3 separate regions of the Homo sapiens genome follow, and regions 1 and 2 are each linked to region 3. The links are contacts of gene promoters, found by promoter capture Hi-C in blood cells and fetal thymus (Javierre and others, 2016). All regions are on one chromosome and are shown on one strand. The core of a region is centred on a gene start or on the middle of the fragment in contact, and the rest is flanking DNA. Distances in the headings are between cores, read along the strand shown.

The links. Contacts are between HindIII fragments. The CHiCAGO score rates a contact against its expected background, and 5 or more counts as called.
Region 1: a contact is called between a fragment that was not itself captured here and the fragment with the promoter of LDLRAD4 in region 3, in 14 of 17 cell types (naive CD4 T cells, megakaryocytes, activated CD4 T cells and 11 more). The highest score is 20.5, in naive CD4 T cells.
Region 2: a fragment that was not itself captured here is called in contact with the fragment with the promoter of LDLRAD4 in region 3 in 5 of 17 cell types (megakaryocytes, non-activated CD4 T cells, M1 macrophages and 2 more); the score reaches 6.4 in megakaryocytes.

Annotation. Positions count from the first base shown.
Region 1 is chr18:13,390,376-13,393,952 of GRCh38, forward strand. The region is part of intron 3 of LDLRAD4 (low density lipoprotein receptor class A domain containing 4); the gene reads left to right. Among named protein-coding and RNA genes, the nearest start is that of LDLRAD4-AS1, 35 kb to the right of the region's middle. The HindIII fragment of the contact is 3,259 bases long and covers 1-2,896 here.
Region 2 is chr18:13,351,328-13,354,815 of GRCh38, forward strand. The region is part of intron 2 of LDLRAD4 (low density lipoprotein receptor class A domain containing 4); the gene reads left to right. Among named protein-coding and RNA genes, the nearest start is that of LDLRAD4-AS1, 74 kb to the right of the region's middle. The HindIII fragment of the contact is 1,820 bases long and covers 576-2,395 here.
Region 3 is chr18:13,217,510-13,220,904 of GRCh38, forward strand. It overlaps LDLRAD4 (low density lipoprotein receptor class A domain containing 4), which reads left to right and starts at 1,251. Exons shown (of 7, transcript NM_001378100.1): 1 at 1,251-1,479. RefSeq lists a silencer at 42-411. The HindIII fragment of the contact is 2,786 bases long and covers 1-1,421 here.

The DNA of each region.
Region 1 (3,577 bases), core at 17-2,516, 170 kb after region 3:
GCAGGAACTGGCTGGTGCCAGTGGCCTCTCCAGATTGTCCCACGCTGTGTGGCCTTGGGTACACACGGGTTCCCTGGGGAGCTTCCCTACCACCTGGGTCTCACCCTCAGAGACTGAGGTTTAATTGGTCTTGGCATCACCTAGACCTGCTAAATCAGGACTCTCATCCTCACAAGATCCTAGGTGCTTGGCTCACTTTAAAGTCTGGGAAGCACTGGGAGCTGGCACCCAGCAGAGCAGTGTTCAGAGAGAGGCCAGGGTGCTTGAGGGGGTCATGTCTCAAAAAAAAAAAATCACCTGACTTGTGCCATTCCTTCAGCAGGGGGGATCAAAATAATGGGTCTGCCTGTTCTCAGACCATCATGTGTTGAATAGTGTTCACACTGTTGGGTGCGCCAGCACCTGCAGGGTGGCAGTTTTAGCTTCCCCATCTCTCTCTAGGAAGTAACCAGCAGTGAAATAAGGAGATGTGAGCGCCTGGCCTTCTCTGGAGCTGGGTCCCTGGAGACTTGGCTCATCATTTTTATTCTTGGTCTCCCTTCCCATCTGTCTGCCCACATAGTTTGCAAGAGTCCCTGTGATGTAGGATGCAGGGGCTGACACACTCTGCCTGCCCAGGCAGCTGGGTGAAGGTGTAGCTTTAGAAGGAGGCGCTCAGGAGTCCGGTGCCCAGCCCACTGCCTTAGTTGGGTTGCTGTTCTTAAAATTTTGGATTTTGCTGATTCTCTGGGCTAATAGAAAGGAGTCTTGCCTTAGATAAGACATTGAGGCATCTTCCCTAGGCTTTAAATTTTGTTTTAGGGCCAGGCAAACATCACTGGGCAGTTAACCATATGTCCACTAAAATTTGTCACTTTATGTTCCAATTCTCTTGGAGGGTAGAGGCTCAGAATTCCTCTTTAAGAGGGTTTTGGGCAGCACTCGGGCTGTGGGGGAGGGCTGGGAGACCTGCCATGAAGCTGCGTTTGTTTGGAGCGTGTGAAAGTACCATGAAGGGGGTGGGAGTTTGGAAGGCCCCTGTCCCCATGCCACGTTGGCAATCCTGTGTGATGGAGTTCACTCTGACCTCGTGCCTCCTGGGTGAGTGTGGGTATACTCACATAGATGCGTATTTAACTTCTTAATTATGATCTTAGGTGAATGCTTGCATACAGGAATTGATACATTATTTTTAGTTTTCTCAGCATATGCAATTTAGAAATGATTTTAGTCATTTAGATAGTATTTTATATCAAAAATTAATTTTTTCCTTTTACAAGTAGCATCTGCTCATTGTAAGCAAACTCGGAAAGCGCAAGAGTCAAAAGAAAAATAATTTCCTACACGCATCTTTGCCATGTGACTCTTTCTTCGGGCAACATTTTAGTTTACATCCTTCCAGTTTTGTCTTTTGCAAATTTCTTCCTACAGAACTGTGTTCATAATAGTATTTAATATGGTAACTTGATCATTCCCTTTTAACATTACATTACGAGCATTTTTCTTATAAATACGATTTTAAATTGCTGCATAATATTTTCATGTACATGTACTTGAATTTTAAAATTGTGTTCCTGTTGTTGGATAGTCCACTTTTTGACGGTTTTCACCCTTATGAATAACGCTTTGATGAACACCTTTGTGCATAAAAGCTCTTCTGTATATTTGATTATTTCCTTAGGATAAACTCCCTGAGGCAAAATTATTGGGTCCAAAGATGTGAATTCTGTTACAGCTTATAATTAAATTTCCAGAAGGATTGATTGATCCTAACTTTTGAGGCTGTGCTGAAACTGGTTTCCTTCTGTTGCCAGTTGCCTGTTCACAGTGACTGCGCTCAGAATTGGGTGTGTCCTCCACGGTTCAGCTGTGCGTGGAGCGGCCCCCACCTGCCTCACAGGGCATTTGTGAAGCTCTTTGCAGCATGCGGCTCTAAAGGCCGCCTGAGTGCCATGTGTTGTGTGGAGCACCTTCATGTTACACTTGAGCATGTAAAAACACAGATGTCCTAAACTTACTGTTTTTGTGCTTCCAGGCCCTCTTTCTGCCTGGCTGTCATTCATTGAGCAATGATATAGGTGAATGGACTTGGGAAAGATAAGACTCTGGCTGTCCTAAAAACAAACCCCCAGTTCCTCTGAGCAGAGGGAAGCAGGGACCCTTCCGGGCTGGGTCCGCCGGCCTCTGTCCCAGGTGCCGTCATAGTGGTGGAGATTTCACCTGAGGTTTCTTGTGGTTTTGACTGACTTGGAATGCATCCTTTCTGGGTGTCACCGTACACATCCTAAAGAGGTTGCTGGCTTGAGATTCTGCCTCTTCCCGGCCCATGGTACCACCCTTGGATGCTGCAGAGGTTTTGCACAATTAATTTTCTTAGGCTTTTTAAATTATTTTAATGTTAGAGAAAAACATTTAACCTCAAATAACTAGGTAAGTGAATCAAATTCCTATAGAATTTATAGCGAGTCTTTCTGGTGAAAGGAGAATCAGATCTAATTGTTAAATAAATTAAGGTTATTTCGCTCATAAAGGAGGAGGAGGGCAGTTAGTAGTCTTTGTCTGAAAGTGCTATTTTGTGGATGTTGGTGACCAGGTTTTCTTAGCCACTAATGAGACTGAAAAAGAATCACTTAAATGGAATAGTTGGAGCTGTTTCCCCTGTGGGCTCCGAGTGAAGGATGTAGGCTTGCTGGGGGTGTGACTGGGCTGCTGTGTTCAGGAGCAGCTCCCGGCGTGCCCTTCCCACCCCACAGACCTTCCGCGCATTCCTCATCCCTCTCCTCTGCAAGGTTGCACCTGTGGCTGACCCACGGATGCCCTCAGCCCCCGCCTTCCAGAGCTGCCCAGAGAATGCTCGCTTTAGGAGATATTGAGAGCTGTTCCTCCATAAAAGGAGTGGGGGTGAATTAATGGCCAAAGCTTGGAAGAAGAAACTTAAATCAGTTTCTTTACTACAGAACTTTTCAGTCTTTAATATGGGGCTGTGCAGTATGAAGGTCCCAGGTGGGCAGGCAGCGGGCAGTGTTTTCCAAATGACAAGACCTGGAAGGCATTTTAGAGAGAACAGCAGGCAGGGACAGCTTCTCATAGCACGCACTCTGGAGAAGCCACAAATGTTTTGGGGGTCGCCTCCTGCCATCTGCAGCTCCCGTGTGCCTGTCCCACCTGCGCCAATGCAGTGGTCCCCGGCGGGCTGCTTCTGTTGAGCAAATATTGACGGAGCTCTTGCCAGGTGTATGTCAAGTGCTGCAGAGAAACAGTGTCATGAGACCGTCTCCCTGCCTCCGTTCTCTCCTCTCTCTAGTTCTGCCGATGCTCTTTAGAGTGAGGTTTTAGTGATAAGTTTCCCTTGCCCCAAAACTTTCCAGGGCTGCTTCTTGCTTCATAACAGGAGTCCAGGCACCTCTTCCTGGAGTTCAAGGCCCCCAGAGTTGCCTTCCTTCATTCTTGTGTTGTGACCAAAGTTCCTGACACAGTGACTGTGAGCCCACCCATCAATCATTTGTGCAGTTTTTAATGGGATGCTGTTGCTGATGCTTTCTCATTTCCTGCAGAGTCTCTCTTTCCACCACCTTCCTCTCCATCTTCAGGATCTGTC
Region 2 (3,488 bases), core at 236-2,735, 130 kb after region 3:
TGAAGAAGTCCTTCACATCCCTTGTTAGCTGTATTCCTAGGCATTTTATTCTCTTTGTAGCAATTGTGAATGGGAGTTCATTTGTGATTTGTCTGTCTGCTTGTCTGTTGTTGGTGTATAGGAATGTTTGTGATTTTTGCACATTGATTTTGTATCCTGAGACTTTGCTGCAGTTGCTTATCAGCTTAAGAAGTTTTTGGACTGAGATGATGAGGTTTTCTAAATATAGAATCATGTTGTCTTCGGTTGAATCCCTGAATAGACCAATAACAAGTTCTGAAATTGAGGAATTAATAGCCTACCAACCGAAAAAAGCCCAGGACCAGACAGATTCACAGCCAAATTCTACCAGAGATACAGAGAGTATCTGGTACCATTCCTTCTGAAACTATTCCTAACAATTGAAAAGAAGGGACTCCTCCTTAACTCATTTTATGAGGCCAGCATCATCCTGATACCAAAACTTGGCAGAGACACAACAAAAAAAGAAAACTTCAGGTCAATATCCCTGATGAACATCAATGCAAACATTTTCAATAAGATACTGGCAAACCGAATCCAGCAGCACATCAAAAAGCTTATCCACCATGATCAAGTTGGCTTCATCCCTAGGATGCAAGGGTGGTTCAACATATGCAAATCAGTAAACATAATCCATCACATAAACAGAACCAATGACAAAAACCACATGATCATCTCAATAGATGCAGAAAAGGCCTTTGATAAAATTCAACATCCCTTTGTGTTAAAAACTCTCAATAAACTATGTCTTGATGTAACATATCTCAAAATAATAAGAACTATTTATGACAGACCCACAGCCAAAATCATACTGAATGGGCAAAAGCTGGAAGCATTCCCTTTGAAAACCAGCACAAGACAAGGATACCCTTTCTCACCACTTCTATTCAACATAGTGTTGGAAGTTGTGGCCAGGGCAATCAGGCAAGAGAAAGAAATAAAGAGTATTCAAATAGGAATAGAGGACGTCAAATTGTCTCATTTTTAGTTCAAGTTTTGGAACATACAGAATTCTTGGCTGACAGGTTGTTTTTGTTTGTTTTATTTTTCCCTTTCAGCAGTTTAAATAAATCCTCACATTGCCTTTGGGCTGCTGGGTTTCTGCTGAACAATGTGCTGATTATCTTACTGGATATCTTTTGTATATGATGGTTCACTTCTCTCAGTACTTAAAAGATTCGGTCTTTTGACAGTTTGAATATGTCTTGGTGTGGGTCTCTTTAGTTTTATCCTACTTTGAGTTGTTAAATTTCTCGGATTTGTCAATTTATGTATTTTCTCAAAGTTGAGACATTTTCTGCTATTATTCCTTCAAATAATATCTTCCTCTTTCTCTCTTCTCCTTCTGGAATTCTCGTAACATGTATACTTGTTCCCTTGCTTGTGCCCCATAAGCCTCTTAGGCTCTGTTCACTTTTCTTCATTCTTTTTTCTTTCTACCTCTCAGATTCAGTAGTTTTAAATGACTTGTCTTTAGATTTTCTTATTCTTTCTTTTACCTGTTTGAGTTTGCTGTTGAGCTCCTGTAATATATTTTTGAAAATATAGTAGCATTTTTCATTCAGTTGTGTTTTTCAGCTCTAGAATTTCTGTTTGGTTCCATTTTATAATTTCTGTCTCTTTGCTATTATTCTCATTTTGTTTTTAAATCATTTTCCTGATTTTCTTTAGTACTTAGTCCATTTTTCCTCTAGCTCTTTAAGCATATTTAAGACTTATGTGGTAAAATCTTTGTCTAGTATATCCAGTGCCTATGTTTCTTCAGGGATAGTTTCCACTGCTTTATTTTCTTCATTTTTGTAAGCCATGTTTTCCTGTTTTGTCTTTTGTATGTCGTGTGCTTTTTTAAAATGGAAAATTAGGCATTTGAAAAAAAAATAACCACTTCCTCCTGTCTTTCTAGAGTGGCTTTGTGTTGGGGAGGACCTTTGGGATCAGCTGAGCTTTATTAACAAGCTGAGCTTTGGGATAGCTCACTGTGAAGGCTTAAGGCCTTGCTAGGCCCTTTTCTGGGTATGTGTCTTATGTGGGCCTGTGTGTATGCTTTTCAATTCCCAAGTATAGATGGTGGCTTTTAATTTTCTTAATTTCCCCAATACTCTCACCTTGGCTGCTGGACCTTATGTATTCTATTGTATTCCTCTGCCTGCAGTCTGTTGCCCTAGGTGTCTGTGGGTCTGTTTTCTTAGAGTAGCTGTCACTGCTGCTTCCTGTTTCTTGTGCCTTTTCCTAGCCTGAGAGGCAAGCTGTGGTGGTTTTTGCCTTCTGAGCTTGGAGTTAGGCAATGCAGAGACCAGTCCTCAGGCAGTCCTCAGACAGGTTAAAATATTGCAAATTAGGTCAGGTCTACTCCCTTCAGAGGGAGGGAATTGGAAGCTTTGGCCACTGCCTCCTCCAGCCCAAGGCTACACCAGGCTGGGAAGTAGGGGAAAAAAGAGTGAATAAAAATGAAATGAAATGGCAGACATTTTGAATGTGGCTTCTTCAGTAGGCATTTGCTTAATGACTATAGAACTTTGTTTTCCAGCTCTTTTATAAAGTTAATGTAGCTAGTCTCTAGTTGTTTTTCTTTAATGTTTCTTTGGGTGAATGAGGGCCTGGAGCCTCCTGGTCTGCTATTTTGCTGATGTCACTGCTCCAGATAATATTCTTTTTTTTTCCTAGTTAATACAACAGTGATTTAACTCACAGGATTAAAAATGTTTAGAGTTTTAGATGGGCATGGTGGTGCACACCTGTAGTCCCAGCTGCTTGGGAAGTTGAGTTGGGATGATCAGTTAAGCCCAAGAGTTCGAGGCTGTAGTGTGCCATGTTTGCACCTGTGAGTAGCCATTGCCCTCCAGCCTTGGCAATATAGCAAGACCCAGTCTCTAAAAAAAGAAATAAGAAAAGCTTAGCATTTAATTTTTTCAAGTACTTTGGAGAATGCAATAAGAATTGTCAATTTTATGCTAAAATTTATCATATGGAAGTTCTTACGGTGTTGATTTGGTTGCAGCACAACTTTTTATTTATGAAAAAGGAATTTACTCTTTGAAATGGTAAGATTTTGGGACCAACAGCATGAAATGGATATAATGGAAAATGTTCTTTTATTGCTGTTGGGTGCATTCTCTTGCACATTCTGTAATTTTGACATAGGCTACTGTGATTAGAAATTACATCATTTGTGTGATGGAAAAATATAGAGAACTAGAGGCAGTCTGAACTAAATTACTGCTCCATGAAACCAAAGGGGCCTGAGATGACTTAGACACCATCCTTCTTGAGGATGGGGAATGAATCAGTGATCAGCTGAGCCTTCTGGTGGTGTGATTCAGACATTATTTAGCTGGGGTTCTGAACCCAGGATCCATTAATGGAGTTAAACTTTCTTTTAAAATATATTCCAAAATCATTTTACAGAGATTTATTCTCATTCTCCTCAATGTGCAGTTTGGTCGGCACTGAGGGCAAGGGCTTGTGCT
Region 3 (3,395 bases), core at 1-2,500:
CCACGGCGGCCCCGGTACCCGCGGCCTGGCCGCGCGCCGGGTCCCCACCGCGGAGTGGGAAGGAGGAGGAGAGACTGGAGGAGTTGGAGACAGACACAGCCGCGGCGCGCAGTCACGGCTGGAGACAGACGGCGGCGACGGCGGCGGGAGGCGGGACACTCCCCCCTCCGGCGACTGGAGGCGGGACACCTCCCCGGCGGCCGCAGCGCCGCGTCCCCTCTCTCCCCGCGCTGAGGCTGCGGACCGGGCCCGGCGGGATTAGCAGGCGAGTGCGTTGGCCCTGCCCGCTCCGCGCGCCGCCGCGGCCGGCCGGGGATCCCCTGCAAGCCACTGAGCCGCTGCCGCCGCTGCAGCCAGACAGGCTGCGGGTGCCTGGGAAAGTGGAAGCAGGGCGGGGAGCGCGGGGGAGGCCCGGGGGTGAGGTCCTCAGCTCTTAAAGAACCCCGGCGCGCCGCGCTCCCCGCCGGCCCGCCGCGCGCCCCCTGCCGCGCCCCGCACAGCGCCCCTCCCCCTGGCCAGCAGGGCCGGTGGCCGCGGAGCCGCACTGCGGGCAGTCCCCGCCTCCGCTCCGGGGGGGCGGCCCAGGTGAGTGCGGACCCGAGGTGGCCGCAGTGGTCGGGGCTTCTGGCCCAAGTTCACCGCTGCGCTCCGGAGGGAGGGGTGGCGGGGGACTCGGGAACCGGACGCTTTGGGAACTGGACGTCCGCGAGCCTGCGCCGTCGGCTGGGGCCGGAGGGAGAAGCTGGGCGCCGAGCGCGCGAGGTCTGTGAGGCTTGGTCCGGGTGGGCTTGCCGGTGGGCACGGCGGGGATCCGGGGCTGGCCCGCGGGCGGGGTTACGCCGGTGGAGGGACTTCGCCGACCCCCACCCCGTTTTCTGTTTCCTGGTGCCCTGGGGCGCAGGGTGTCCCGCGGTTGCAAGACTGAATTCTGCACCGCCCGGAGGCCAGGATGGGCGCGCGGATGGCAGCCCCAACTGTCTCCGCGCCCCTAGGCCTCGGCGAGCCGTGGCGGGCAGGGACTGGAGGTCAGCGGGAAGCGGGAAGATCCTGCAGGACCTGACCGGGGAGTTTGCGGGAAGGAGGGGGCGGGCCAAGCCCCGCAGCCCCTCAGTCCCGCATCCTGCACCGCGCGCTCCCCGGCCCCGGCCCCTCGGGCCCGCTTCACCCGGCGTCCCCCCGGGTCCCCCCGCGCGCGTTGACGTCGGTCGCGGGACCGCCCGGAGCTCCCGGCATTGGCTGGGAAGTCGATTGTCTGGGGCTGCTGCTGTTGCACTTAGGCTGGGTCTCCGAGCCCCGGAGGAAGCAGGCGTGTGTTGAATTTCTCTCTGCCCCTCACCTTGGAATAAACAGGAAGCGACAAGCACCCAGCCCGGCCCGGCACTTGCCTTTGTGAAGGGGTCTGCCCTGCACAGCCTTTAGGAAGCTTCCTCGGGACCCCTTCCCGGTGCGCCGCCCCGGGTGGGCCTGGGGGCGCGCCCTGTGAGTACACCGGTGGAAGACAGTGGGTTCGGTTTAGGTTAAATCGCTATCGTGGCGGAGAGGGCATTTGCTTGTTTAAACTTTTTTTTTTTTTTTTTTAATTGGAAAAGGAGAAGGTTTCCCGATGAGGCAGAGGTTTTCAGGACGACAGGGACGCATGGTGGGTGGGCGGCACTGGGGGAAGGCGCATCCGAGAGTACAGCGTTCTTGGGTCACCTACCTGGAGGGACACCTCGTCGCCAGTCAGGGCAGCTAGAAGCTCTTTAAAGCAAGCAGGACTCCTTAGCTCTGCCCAGGCACAGGAATGGTTGCTGTGTGCCCATAGCCGCATGAACTAGCATGATTTTTGTTTTTCCCCCAAAATTTTTTAATTAGCTAGAATTAGATAATTTTGATTTGCTTCTTTTCTTTTCCTCTGTGTCTTGGTCTATTCCCTTCTCTTTTTCTCTTTTCTAATTATTTTGGCATCTTCTCATCCCCGGACCAGCGCTGCTTTCTAAATGTTAATTACCATTGCAATACATATTTATTGAGGGCCTACTATGTGTTAGGCATTGTAGGATGTGAGGTAAGAGTAGCTGCACAGAATGTGGGTTCTGAGCGCTAGTATTAGTAAGTTATTTGCAGTAGAGGTGGATAGAGATGGTGAGCAGCATTGACTCTCAAAAATAGGGTCCTATGGCTGGTAAGGAGGTTGGTGCCTTCTCGAAGGGCTAGTGCTGGGAAGCTTCCTTTTAAAAACGGCCCTTTCTGCCGGTTTGGCTAGCCAAGAATGGCATCCTCCTCTCTGTATCTTCCCTGGAGCTTCAGGACTGAGTATTGAATGACAGAGAAGGTTCTGCAAAGTCTGCACAGGGAGACTGCCATTGCATCAAGTCATGTCTGCATTCTGTATATGGTATTGTCTTTTCTAGTCTTTAACTCGAGTGTGTTGTCATCTGTAACTCTCCCTTTGTACTCTGCACAATTCTTCTGGAATATAGTCTTTGTGTTCAGTCAAGGATCAGAGTGTCAAATCTGAGTCATTACATAGACAAATGAGGATGTCTGAGTATTACCCATGTATATTTATTGAATTATATTTGGTTTCCCATCAACCCTTGAAATGTTATTTGATGGACCTTTCTAAGCAGTGCTTTTTAAAACAGGGGGCTAACTTCCTTATGATCTTTGAAAGCTTAATTCTTTTTAAGAGCTTCATTTTGCTATTGACATTGAACACAGTGTTAGGAATTAGGGCTGGGAATGTAAATGCCAGTAAGGGATTTGCTGTAATGGAATTGTAGCTACCTTCCTCCCTTGTTTTAAATGACCTCTCTAATTTCTTAACATTCTGCTGTTACCCTTGGAAGGGCTTGCCATTGTTGGCCATGGTCCTGGTTCGTGTAGGTTTGTATTTACATTGGAGAAGACTCTTCCCGGCAGGTTTTTAGGGCTGTCTCTTGAATCCTCTCATGGGCTTGGTTTGCAAGACCACAATCCTGCAGTGGAACGCAGCCAGTGCCAGCTGCTTATTAAGGGATTTTGTGCCAATTTGTTGGCACATTATTTGAGACTCCTGCACCCCACCCTACTCCCACTGGAGTATATACATACATAGACAAATATTTATTTTCCCCCAACTGCTGACAGTGTTCTAAGAATAGTTTTCTTGCCTGGCACGCGGAGAGCAAGGGCCCGTCTGCAGAGGTGTTTACAGTTTGGGACTGTGCTGTAGTCTTGGTTGACTTAGCAGCCTGGCAGACCAGCCTCATAGCTCCTGGGACGCTCTCTGTTTTTGCTCTGGGCTGCTGCAGGGGTAACCTCCCTGACTGATAGGGAAGCACAGTCAGAGGAGAGTGACTTTTGCTCCTTGTGCATGGTTTCTGGCAGGCAGTCCAGCAGAGATCCCTGAGCTCCTGACGTCTCTGCATGTA